Regions from separate parts of the Homo sapiens genome. Here all the other regions are linked to region 1. Evidence: promoter capture Hi-C in 16 types of primary human blood cells and fetal thymus (Javierre and others, 2016). All regions are on one chromosome and are shown on one strand. Each heading gives the region's core, a stretch centred on a gene start or on the middle of the fragment in contact. The rest is flanking DNA. Distances are from core to core; before and after follow the strand shown. Region 1 holds the start of HSPB2 (heat shock protein family B (small) member 2). Region 2 overlaps BCO2 (beta-carotene oxygenase 2). Region 3 overlaps TEX12 (testis expressed 12).

Region 1 (4,176 bases), core at 1,677-4,176:
TTTGAATGGAGAGGGGATTTGGACTAAATCAGAAGTTTTCAAATTTCTTATAGCTAGGAAACCCTTTCCTTTAAATAAAGCTCAGTTACAAAACATATCAATGTGAAGCTATTTTGGTTGAAGTCTAAGTAGAATCCTTTTCTTATTATTTTTCTTCTCAACTAGATTCTGGAAAGTTGACAATAAAAGCTAATAGTTTTTATAATTTATATTTACAATGTATATCCCCCAAGGTGTATTACATGAGGTTTGATAAATATTTACTGAATGAATGAATGAACAGTTAAATATGTCAAATGTTATTTCTCTGGGGCATGCTTTCATTTTTAATAGACAGCAATCTTTTAACCAAAAGTCGAATTCCTCAAGTGAGTTCTGTTATCCTGGAGGTCCACAGATCCCTAAGGGGGGTATGTGAATGGGTCTTAAGAGTTGTGGGAACCTATTCAAATTGTATTGCCAAATTTGGGAGCATATGTATTTTTCTGGTAAGAGCAGCTATAGCTTTTGTCAGATTTTCAGAAGGGTCTATAACTCCCAAAAGTTAAGAAACAACCACTTAATTTAATTCAATTCAATTTAATTTTTTTGAGGCAGGGTCTCACTCTGTCACCCAGGCTGGAGTGCAGTGGCGCAATCTCAGCTCACTGCAGCTTCAACCTCCCTAGCTCATCCTCCCACCTCAGCCTCCCAAGTAGCTGGGACTACAGGCATGCACCACCATGCCTGGCTAATTTTTATTTTTTTGTAGAGACAAGGTTGCACTCTATTGCCCAGGCTGGTCTCTTACTCTTGGGCTCAAGTGATCCTCCTGCCTCGGCCTCCCAAAGTACTGGGATTACAGGTGTGAGCTGCTGCACCCAGCCAAGAAACAACTGCTTTAATGGAAGAATTGTAGGTATCTACCACAGCCTAATGAAATATGTATTTGGAGGCAGGAAGGTCTTTTGGACACTTCCCCCAAATCATGTAGCTGGATGTTCTCTTGATTGCAGAGAATAACTGAGGGGACAGACCTCAGGCTTTCCTGAATACACCGTACCCCCAGAGGATGGGAAGGTAATGGGGTTCCGTGATAATTGGAGAGGCTTTGTGTCTGTGCCCTGTGTATGCATACTCAGGCTCTCAAAATCAGTGACCATTTAAGTGGACAGACCTTAGTACATGAAAACAAAGTATTCACTCCAGGACTTTAGGCAACTCTCACCAGCCAAAAACCATTTTCCCAGCCCCTACCCAAAAAGGGCCAGACAGTCTGGAGACCCTTGTTTTTGTGTCTCTAATCACCAGCTCAGACAGTGCCCTCTGGGCTGTTTGGATGGCATATCCCTTTTCCCTCCCAGGATCACTCTCTCTTTTGTTGCATTGTGAGAAAATTATGGCTAGGAATTTGATCTGGAGCCAGAGTCAGCTTCCGGGTGTGATCTCAGCATCCAAGTGCGAGCTCAGGGTCCTATGACGTTGGGCACATCAAACTGAGGAGCTTTTTGTCTAGCTGGCTGTGACCTCCTCCCTCCCTCCCCATCCCAGCTTCCCGGCCACAGAATAGGGAGCAGTACAAACAAGGCCCTGAGATTTGGGTTTATTCAGCTCCACCCAAAACTAAACCAAGGCTATGACATGTCCCATGGGACCAAACCATACATTGTGGACCATGCACCTTTCCCTTCCCCCAAGGATGCTGCTACCTCTGGAGTGGTGGGCAGCTGCCCATATCACCTTGGGAGGTAGAGAGGGATTTGCTGGGTGCTGGGTCTGTGGCAATCAGGGCTCAACTATGGCTGCCTCCTCCTCTTCCTCTGGATCAGGAGGCGCAGGGAGCAGGGAGATGTAGACCTCATTGACCTCTGTGTCCAAATGTCGGCCACCCCGAGGTGCTTCCAGGTTTAAGATGCCATCATGGGAGAGAGCAGCTCGGACTCGCCAGGGGTCGACATCAGCAGGCAGGACATAGGTGCGGCAGAACTCTCGGGACACGAAGCCGTGGCGGTCCAGGCGCTGGGGGTGCCGGGCAGACACCTCCAGCAGGTTATCCACAGTCCTCACAGTCACCTCGTCTGGGGTAAAGTGGCTCACATCCAGAAATGCCTGGAACTTGCCCTCACTGAGCCTAAGCTCGGAGGCCCCTGCCCTGCTGCCCTCCCCAGCTGGGGCGGCCCGAGGCCGGACATAGTAGCCATGGTAGAGTGTGGGGGTCAGGATCTCTTCTGGCAGGAGGCCTAAAGGGCAGAGAGAAGGCAAGAGGCAGGATGAGGGAGGATGAGGCTGGCACAGGGGCGAAATGGGAAATCTGGAGAGGAGGGATTGGGAAGAGCAAGAGGGGAGTCAGGAGGAGTAGGGAACGGGAGGGAGGCCACACTGTAGCTAGGAGGAGAAGGCAGCTCGGAAGAGGGGAAAGAGAACGGAAAGGAAAGGGAGGAGGAGGAGGAGAAGGAGGAGGAGGGGGAGGAGGAGGAGGCACCAAACGGCCTGGGTGGATAGAAGGGGGACAAGGAGGCACACCCAGGCCGGCAAAGAGCAGGTATCAGCACTGCAAGCACCAAGTGTGTCTTGAGGTCAGCAGGAATGGGAAAGATCTCTGCTTGGAGGGGATGAGGGGTAGTCTGGGGTGGGGGGTGGCTGGTCCCAGGAGATCAGTTAAGCCCAGAGTGGGGTGGAGGCCAGCAACGTTGGGAGGTCAGCCCAGAATTTCAGGGGGTGGGGGTGGGGGGCAAGGGGGTGGTGTCTGTGCCATACCTTCTCCGAAGCGCTGCTCACCCAGGCGGCTCGGGTTGGCAAATTCGTACTCGGCGGTGGCCGGGTGGGCATGTGGCACTGAGCGGCCCGACATGGCTGCAGATGCAGCAGAAGCCCTGGTCCGAGGTGCAGCCCCAACAGGCGCAGCGCGACCCCTCCAGCTGCCCGGAGAGCCAGGGCTCGATAGGAGGTGGGGGCGGGGTCGACACCACCCAAAATAGTGCCGAGCCTCTTGGGGGGGGAGGGGCTGGGAGTGGGGGCCCTGAGTGAGAGCAACGAGGGTGTGACCAGCGCCGCCCGGACCCCTAGTCCCCTCCCCCGCACACTCTTCAGCTGTCGCAGGGGGCCTGAGAGGACAGCTGAGGGTCCTGGCTGGGAACGAGCTGGGGAGGGGGAGCTGGTGGTGCCTGGGGCATGAAGAGGCCTCGCTGAGACCCTCACAAACGGTTTGCACGTTTCCACACCTCATTTTCTCCTCTTCGGTGGCAGGCACTGTGCACCCAATTCCTAAAGCACTCCTGGATTTAATGTTCTGAGAGCCACATAGAACGAAAGATGCAAGAAATCTGTTTGCTCTTTTTTCAGGGGGTGGGGTCTTTCTGCCCAGATGTGGGATCCTCTCCTAAACCCAGGTCAACCCAGGGCACGAGGCAGATGGCTGGTGCTGACATGTTGACCATCACTGCTCTCTTCCAAGGACTCACAAAGAGTTAATGTCCCTGGGGCTCAGCCTAGGAAGATTCCAGTCCCTGCCCAGGCCCAAGATAGTTGCTGGCCTGATTCCCCTGGCATTCAGGACTGGAAAGGAGGAGGAGGGGCACACTACGCCGGCTCCCATCCTCCCCCCACCCCGCGTGCCTGCTTGGGATTCCTGACTCTGTACCAGCTTCAGAGAACAGGGGTGGGGGTGGGTGCCATTGGGTGTGGACAGAAAGCTAGTGAAACAAGACCATGACAAGTCACTGGCCGGCTCAGACGTGTTTGTGTCTCTCTTTTCTTAGCTCAGTGAGTACTGGGTATGTGTCACATTGCCAAATCCCGGATCACAAGTCTCCATGAACTGCTGGTGAGCTAGGATAATAAAACCCCTGACATCACCATTCCAGAAGCTTCACAAGACTGCATATATAAGGGGCTGGCTGTAGCTGCAGCTGAAGGAGCTGACCAGCCAGCTGACCCCTCACACTCACCTAGCCACCATGGACATCGCCATCCACCACCCCTGGATCCGCCGCCCCTTCTTTCCTTTCCACTCCCCCAGCCGCCTCTTTGACCAGTTCTTCGGAGAGCACCTGTTGGAGTCTGATCTTTTCCCGACGTCTACTTCCCTGAGTCCCTTCTACCTTCGGCCACCCTCCTTCCTGCGGGCACCCAGCTGGTTTGACACTGGACTCTCAGAGGTGAGTCTCCCCACAGCTAGGACGGGAGAGTCCTTACTGG
Region 2 (4,176 bases), core at 1,198-3,697, 300 kb before region 1:
GGAAATTATTTTAAACTGAGAATTGTGGTAGAGAACTATAAATTGGAAAAGAGAACCAAATCAATATTCTAGAACTGTAGATCTGCCTATAAGGAAATTTTCAAGTCTGGAAGGCTTTACTGTTGAATTATTCCAAATATTTAAGAAATAATATCAATCCTATACAATATCATCCAGAAAGAAGGAAAACAGAGAACAATTCCCAACTCATTGTATGAGACTAGAAAAACCACAAAACCAAAACCTAGTAAGAACATTATAGAAAAGAAAAAAATTAAAGGGCAATTTTATTCATGAACATAGATACAAAGAATTCTAAACAAAATAGTAACAAAGCAAATCCTGCAATATATTTAAAAGCAAATAAAATGCGACCAATTGGGATTTACTTCAGGAATGGAAGGGTAGCTTAACATTCAAAAATCAATCAATGGCTGTTATGAACATTTTTTAAAGAATCAGTCAATGTACTTCACCATGTTCACAGAATAAAGGATAAACGTTATATGATTATCTCAATAGTGCAGAAAAAAAACAGTTGATAAAGTCCAACATCCATTCATGACAAAAAATCTCAGTAAACTAGGAGTAAAAGGGAACTCTCCTAATCTAATAAAATGTATCTTTTTAAAAAGTTGTCCACACAAAACGTGCTAACAAATATTTATAACAGCTTTATTCATAATTGCCAAGAATTGGAACCAACCAAGATGTCCTTCAATAAATGAATGAATACACATTTCAGCGATAAAAAGAAATGAGTTCTCAAGCCACAAAAGACACAGAGGAACCTTAAATGCATATTGCTAAGTGAAAAAAGTCAGTCTGAAAAGTCTACATACTGTATGATTCCAACTATGTGACATTCTGGAAAAGTCAAAACTACAGAAATAGTGAAAAGATCAGTGGTTTCCAGGGGCTGAGAGGAGGAAAGGGGAAGGGACGAATGGGGGAGCACAGGGAGATTTTCAGGGCAGTGAACTATTCTGTATGATATTGGTAGATACATGACATTATGCATTTTTCAAAACCGGTAGAACTGTACAACACAGACCTAACCATCATGTAAAGTATGGACTTTAGTTAGTAATAATGTAACACTCCTACATTGATTCATCAGTTGTAACAAATGTACCATTAGCAGGAGAGGGAAATATGGAAACTCTCCATACTTTCTGCTTGATTTTTCTTTAAAAGTAAAATTGCTCTAAAAAACAGTCTATTTTTTTTTGGAAGTCCTTTATTGTAAAGGTAATTCTTTTGTCTGATGACAAACAGCAGCCACAGTGATTATTCTGGATCTCCACAATGGACAAATTCAATTTCTTCTTGAGACACAAGTTTACTTCTATATTTCTGAGGTAATGTTTTCATTACTTCTGCAGTGTCTGGTACATCCACAAATCCAGTAATTTACTTCCCTTAGAATGCTGGGAAATTGCAGAATCGTGAGATGGTTGCCCTGCTGATCTCAGAGCTTCTGGTACATTGGGTTTAGGATTGTCTCTTCCAGCAGGGAAGCTTATTAATGGAGCATGTGGCTTGACTACCTGAACGACACTGCTAGCAGATGCATCTTGCTGCCCATCATGACCCCCGAGAAGGGACAGTTTCTATTATATTTTTTTAATCTACAGCCACAGCATGCTTCATGGTAAAATGCTGCAAGCTTTGCCTCTCAGATTGGGAACAAGTTAAGGATGCCATTATCATCACTTATATTCAACACTGTACTGAAGATCCAGTGAAATAAGACAAAAAAAAAAAAGCCAATATACAGCTTACATGTAGAGTTAGAAAAGGAACTATCATTACTTGCATATGATATTATAGATGTAAAAATCTAAAAGAATCTATAATTATTAGAATTTGTAAGTGTAATTACTATATTAGTGAATATAAAATCAACAAACAAAAATCAATTGCCGGCCAGGTGCGGTGACTCATTCCTGTAATCCCAGCACTTTGGGAGGCCAAGGTGGGTGGATCACTTGAGGTCAGGAGTTCAAGACCAGCCTGGCCAACATGGTGAAACCCCATCTCTACCAAAAAAATATGAAAATTAGCCAGGAATGGTGGCACATGCCTGTAGTCCCAGCTACTCAGGAAGCTGAGGTGGGAGTATTGCTCGAACTCAGGAGGCAGAGGTTGCAGTGAGCTGAGATCACACCACTGCACTCCAGCCTTGGTGACAGAGTGAGACCGTCACACTGTCTCAAAAAAAAAAAATTGCTATATAGCAACACTAACATAAAATGAAAGCAAAAAATAAACAACATTTAAAATAATGTAAAAAAAAAACCTAGGAATAAATCTAACAAAAGATGCAGAAAATATGTAACCAGAAAACTATAAACATTGAAAGAAATTAAAGAAGTCTCAAATAAATGGAAAGATATATTGTGTTCACGTACTGGAAGACTCAACATTGTGTAAAGAGGTTAGTCCTCTCTCAAATTGATACATTGGTTCAGTGCAAATAGAATTAAAATGTGACCATATTTTTGTGTGGGGAACTGACAGCTGATTCTAAAATTTCTACAAAAACGTGAAGGGCCAGGGATGGCCATGACACTCTTTTCAAAAGAAAAATATTAGGATAACTTGACACTAAACCTTAAGACTTTTTTAATGCAGTGCACAAGTAACCATAAGTAGAAACAATGGAACAGAATATACAGTCCAGAAACAGAATAATGCATATACAGATACTTGACTTCTCTAGAAGATAACATAGGATAATATTTTCATTACCTTGCCATGAGAAGATGTCTAAAACAAGATGTACAACGTATAAGTCATAAAGGAAGAGACTGTATACTGGGCCATATTAAGTTAAGAATGTTTATTCATTAAAAGGCACTATTAGGATAATCTGATAAAGATAGCTAGAAAAATACCTATAGCAATTTTATATTTAATAATGAATTATTAAACATTTTTCAACACTACCTATTCAACTTCTATTCACTATCTTGCACTTCTATTCAACTCGAAGTCCTAGCTGGTACAGTAAGGCGAGAAAAAGAAATAAAGCCCTAAGTATTAGAAAGAAAGCTGTCATTATTTTCAGGTAACATGACTGTGCACATAGAAAATCCAAAATAATCTGTGGATCAACTATTTGAACTAATAAGTGAATTTAGCAAGATCTCTGGATATGAAGATAATATACAAAATCAATTGCATTTCTATAAAGAGCAACAAACAGAAAATGAAAGCTTAAAAGATACCATTTACAATAATTTCAAAACACACAAAAAGAAATGTAGTATCTTTATACTGAAAACTATAACTTTACTGAGAGAAATTTTAAAAGACCCAAATAAATGGAGGGATATTCCATGTTCATGGATTGGAAGACTCAATATTGTAAAGATGTCAATTGTCTCCAAATTGATCTACAGTTGCAATATTGTATCAGGTTTTTTCCTTGCAAAAACTGACAAGTTGACATCAAATTTAAAAGTTTCTGCACAGCAAAGGAAACAATCAACAAAACGAAAAGGCGACCTATGGGCTGGGGAAAAAAATTGCAACCACATATCCAATAAGGAATTATACTCAAAATTTGTATATTTTTAAATTTTTTTGTAGAGATGAGGTCTTGCCATCTTGCCCAGGCTGATCTTGAACTGCTGGGCTCAAGCAATCCTCCCACCTTGGCCTCCCAAAGTGCTGGGATTACAGGCGTGAGCCACCACACCTGGCCTCAAAATTTATAAAGAACTCTTACAACTCAATACCAGAAAAACAAATAACCCAATTAAAAAATGGGAAAAGCCGGCCGCCGCCCCGTCTGGGAAGTGAGGAGCGCCTCTGCCCGGCCGCCCACCGTCTGGGAACTGAGGAACACCTCTGCCCAGCTGCCGCCCCTGCCGCCCCAGGAGTGCCTCTGCCCAGCCGCCCACCCTCTGGCAAGTGAGGAGCGCCTCTGCCCGGCCGCTGCCCTGTCTGGGAAGTGAGGAGCGCCTCTGCCTGGCCCCCACATTGTCTGGGATGTGAGGAGCGCCTCTGCCCGGCCCCCGCCCTGTCTGGGAAGTGAGGAGGACCTCTGCCCAGCTGCCGCCCGTCTAGGATGTGAGGAGCGCCTCTGCCTGGCCGCTGCGCAACCTTCCAAGTGTGAAGTGACAGCCTTGTGTGTGATCTTTTCTGTCTTCCCCAAGTTTGCATTTT
Region 3 (4,176 bases), core at 549-3,048, 260 kb before region 1:
ATATTAAACTAAGTAGATATAAACAACATCATTATGTTGTTCTTCATTACACAATATTTGTTAACTATTTCATTTAAATGGCTTTATGTGCCACAGAACTTCATTAATTTACTAATACTCTTCAGAAAAAAAAATTAGTCCCACAAATATTTTTGACTACTCAAAAAGGTCTCCTGACACAACAGGAAGTGTATCTTATACATTATAACACTAATATTCAATTACATACATTATTTTTACAGCCACACAAACCACTATCCAAGTATAATGACTGTCCGGCAGTGTAAAAAAAACACTTCATAAAACATATTAGGCTAATAAAGTATTTAAATTTGGTCTTAAAATAGATATAGGTAAAATATAAATACAGTCATCCCTCAGTATCCATGGGGTATTGGTTCCAGAATCCCCCACAGATACCAAAGGAACATCCCTCATAGATATTCAAGTCCCTTATATAAAATGCCATAGTATTTGCATATAACCTAAGAACATTCTGCCATATAATTTAAATTATCTCTTGATTACTTATAAGACCAATACCATGTAAATGCTATGTAAACAGTTGTTATACTGTATTGTTTGAAAAATAATGACAAGAAAAAAATGTCTGTACATGTTCAGTACAGACACAACCACCCTTTTTTTCCAAATATTTTCAATGTGTGGTTGATTGAATCCACAGATTCAGAATTCATGGATATGAAAGGCTGACTCTCTATGACATAAATATTTATCTTTAATATCAGTCTGTTATCATTAATTTCATCAAACATTTTTCTCAAAGAGGTATTTACATAAAATTTAAAATGTAATGTCATCTAATTACAGACCAAGATATATACAGTCTAGTATTAGCTTGGCAAGAGTAAAAAAGAAAGGATTTTTAGTGGAAAAGTTGACGCTATTCCCTGAAAATAACCAACTAATCTATTATAAGGGACTGAGGTAGAATAAAAAATTCCAAAGTTTTAATTACTGGAGAGGTTTGGCAGCCACAGAATTAAACTTCCCAATACAGAGTTTCCAGAAGAAAACTAACATAAAGACCCCAGAGAATATACTATAAGTACTTGCCTTAAAAGCTTTGCATAGGTAGACAACATTAGATTAATTTCCTTGCTCACATCTGTTCAAGAAAAATCATTTAAGTTATAAAATATAACAAACCTTCTGCATTATAAGACTGATGTTTAGAAATATAAACATTTTATACATCACCATTTAAATCTTTCTCCAAGGCTTCATCTTTATAAAATAGTCCGGAAATTTCAGAGAAAGATGAATCTGATTTTCCAAGAGAGGACAGCTGTGGACTATCTGGCACTGGAGACTAACAGGACAAAATAAAGAAAACAGGTACAGTCAATAAGATCTTCAGGACATATACATTTTGTTTATTAAGAAAAAGCAAATAAAACATTTTTCAGAAAAAGGCAAACATGCTAGAAAGCATATGACTTAGTCATTTGAGTTTTTATTATTAAGGAAATTTACAGGCCCAAGAAACACCTTGCTCAATATATTAAATTTTATTTTGGTTTTCAACTAGACTTTGCTTTTCATTTGTTTGTTTTTGTGACAAGTTCTCGCTCTGTCACCTAGGCCAAAGTGTAGTGACACAATCTTAGCTCACTGTAGCCTCCTAGATTCAAGTGATCCTCCTGTCTCAGACTCCTGAGTAGCTAGGACTACAGGAACATTCCACCATGCCCAGCTAATTTTGTTTTGTTTTGTTTTGTTTTCAGAGACAATGTATTGCAGTGTTGCCCAGGCTGATCTGAAACTCTTAGCCTCAAACGATACTCCTGCCTCAGCCTCCCAAAGCACTAGGATTACAGACATGAGCCAATGCGCCCAGCCTTAAATTAGACTTTAAATGTGGTTTTAAACTCCTGTTGAAAAAGCGTCTGGTATCTTGAACCAGTAGATGTTTTCATAGCAATGAAGCTAAACTGTAATTTAGACAGTAGCCAAATGCTTGTGAAATTTTGCTAAATAATATAATCTTCAAGGGAGCAAATCATGTCCCAAATGCAAAAGATCAACTGGTGGGGGCAGTAGTAAAAGACAGGATACTGTGCTCTTTAAAAAGATCAGTAACTATAGTACCTAGTTATCTTACTTATCACAGCAAAATAATTACATAAAATCCTATGGATCATAAAGGCACAGACTCACTTCTGTCTCTAGATCTCAAGCTACCAAAAAGAAATCTCCCAATAGTTTCTTGGAGGCCTATACTTAGTGAAAAAGCAGCTGGAATCAACATAGTTCCTCCTATGTTGTAGGACAATCCTAGCTCTGGGCATACGAATACATTAAATCCCACTTATCTATAGAGCTTTCTTAAAGGGAAGAAATTTGAGTAGTATGTAAAACAGAATAAAAGATTAAGGCTCCATAGGCATACAGCTTACCTCCAATTCTCTTGGCCTCTTGCAATTTCTATTATCAGGCTTTACAAGGTGATTTGCCATCATATTCCGAAGGCACCAGCTACAAAGCTTAGAACAATGCCAGATTTAGGTACAAACTCCATGCTACAAGCTCTCTGGAATCCTTCCCTGTTTCCCACTCCTACTGCTGATGTTAATTTAGACTGTCATTATCTGTCACTTTCCTAAACTCAATTTCTCCCTCCTCTAAATCATTCTATCAACTGCTATTTGGGTAATCTTTCAAAACTTTGATTACTGCATTCCTTTAACTCAAAAACTTTCATTGTTCCAGAATAAGTTGAAATTCCATGATATGGCCTTCAAGGTCCTGTATTATCTGGTGCAAGCCTACTAGTCCCATCATTTTCAACTACTCCTCTCTATGTACTTAGCCAAATGAGTCTCTCTGGCAATTCTGCCTTGTTTCAGGACTGGCTCAGTTAAGATTCTTTTATCTTCGGCCGGGCGCGCTGGCTCACGGCTGTAATCCCAGCACTTTGGGAAGCTGAGGCAGGAAGATCACCTGAGGTCGGGAGTTCGAGACCAGCCTGGCCAGCATGGTGAAACCCTGTGTCTACTAAAAATCCAAACATTAGCCAGGCGTGGTGGCAGGCGCCTGTAATCCCAGCTACTTGGGAAGCTGAGGTGAGAGAATCGCTTGAACCCAGGAGAGGGAGGTTGCAGTGAGCCGAGATTGTGCCATTGCACTCCAGCCTGGGCAACAGAGCGAGACTCCACCTCAAAAAAAAAAAAAGGATTCTTCTATCTTCACAAAATCTTAATGTTTAAACAGGTCTTACAGTTCATCTAATTCAATCTCATTTTTTACAAGTGAGAAAACAGGGACAGTGACGGTGGATCAAGTGACACCAGTAAGACTGAGCTAAATTAGAACCGAGATCTCACTCGAGTCTGAGGTTATTCCCACTGTCCAACCTTACTTTAAAGTAGCTTCAAATTTTACTTTTACTTTTCCATAAATTCGGAAGGGATTTTCCCTAGGAGTCCAAATGTTGAAACCTGGAAGGGTATAGTCTCTGTGTCTTTGAGATGAGGGGAGCCCTGTCCATATTCAAGTTATCAATTGACTTTGTTGTTTTTGAGAAACGATGCTGATTTGGGTAACTTTAACACATCTGTTTGATTAGTCCTATAAAATATGCATATATAGAAGACAGAAAGAGCAACAACAAATTTGAATGATGCTTGTTAAGTAAATTCTGTATCGTACGTCTCCATTCCTGCCAGTACCTTTATAGTATGTAAGTTTACGTGCTGTAATAGTATTAATAGTATCTAGAAAATACTACACATGCACAGCAGTGCTAACTTTGCCTTGGGAGTTGGAAAATACTTCAGAGAAGCCAACAGGCAGATTTTTCTCTCTTCCCTTCCCCTTCTAATTTTCCCTTTCCCCTTCACCCCCTTCTCTTCTCTCCCCAAGTAACACTGTGCACCTATGTCAAACGAAAACTTATAATCAAGTAACTGTTTCTGCAAAAATAAGTTCGTTTTCCTGTCATGGCTCAAGGCCTCAGCAGATCCAGGCCTGGTGGACGGGCTGGTCTTCGTCGTGTGCCAAACACTGACCACTGCCCTGGCTCTGCCATCTTAGGCTTAGTGACCTGGCTGTTACTAAGCACTGTCCCCTCTGCCCCATGCAGCTGTCTCCTTCTAGTCTTCTCCCTCTTCTCAACGCGATCCTAGCCCCTCAGGCCATTTCACCTCCATTTTC

The links. Contacts are between HindIII fragments. The CHiCAGO score rates a contact against its expected background, and 5 or more counts as called.
Region 2: a fragment that was not itself captured here is called in contact with the fragment with the promoter of HSPB2 in region 1 in 1 of 17 cell types (neutrophils); the score reaches 6.7 in neutrophils.
Region 3: a contact is called between a fragment that was not itself captured here and the fragment with the promoter of HSPB2 in region 1, in 2 of 17 cell types (erythroblasts and neutrophils). The highest score is 5.5, in erythroblasts.

What each region holds. Positions count from the first base shown.
Region 1 is chr11:111,911,484-111,915,659 of GRCh38, reverse strand. It overlaps HSPB2 (heat shock protein family B (small) member 2), which reads right to left and starts at 2,926. Exons shown (of 2, transcript NM_001541.4): 1 at 2,737-2,926; 2 at 1,567-2,219. The coding sequence starts at 2,830. The coding sequence ends at 1,765. CRYAB (crystallin alpha B) reads left to right here and starts at 3,890. Exons shown (of 3, transcript NM_001289808.2): 1 at 3,890-4,136. The coding sequence starts at 3,936. HSPB2-C11orf52 (HSPB2-C11orf52 readthrough (NMD candidate)) reads right to left here and starts at 2,924. Exons shown (of 5, transcript NR_037651.1): 1 at 2,737-2,924. RefSeq lists an enhancer at 1,522-2,175. The HindIII fragment of the contact is 6,880 bases long and covers 1-3,847 here.
Region 2 is chr11:112,206,013-112,210,188 of GRCh38, reverse strand. All of the region lies in intron 8 of BCO2 (beta-carotene oxygenase 2), which reads right to left. It also overlaps the pseudogene MRPS36P4. Among named protein-coding and RNA genes, the nearest start is that of PTS, 18 kb to the left of the region's middle. The HindIII fragment of the contact is 1,552 bases long and covers 1,672-3,223 here.
Region 3 is chr11:112,167,576-112,171,751 of GRCh38, reverse strand. TEX12 (testis expressed 12) reads right to left here. Exons shown (of 5, transcript NM_031275.4): 2 at 2,421-2,499; 3 at 1,222-1,333; 4 at 1,078-1,129. The coding sequence starts at 2,483. Among named protein-coding and RNA genes, the nearest start is that of TEX12, 2.3 kb to the right of the region's middle. The HindIII fragment of the contact is 1,422 bases long and covers 1,088-2,509 here.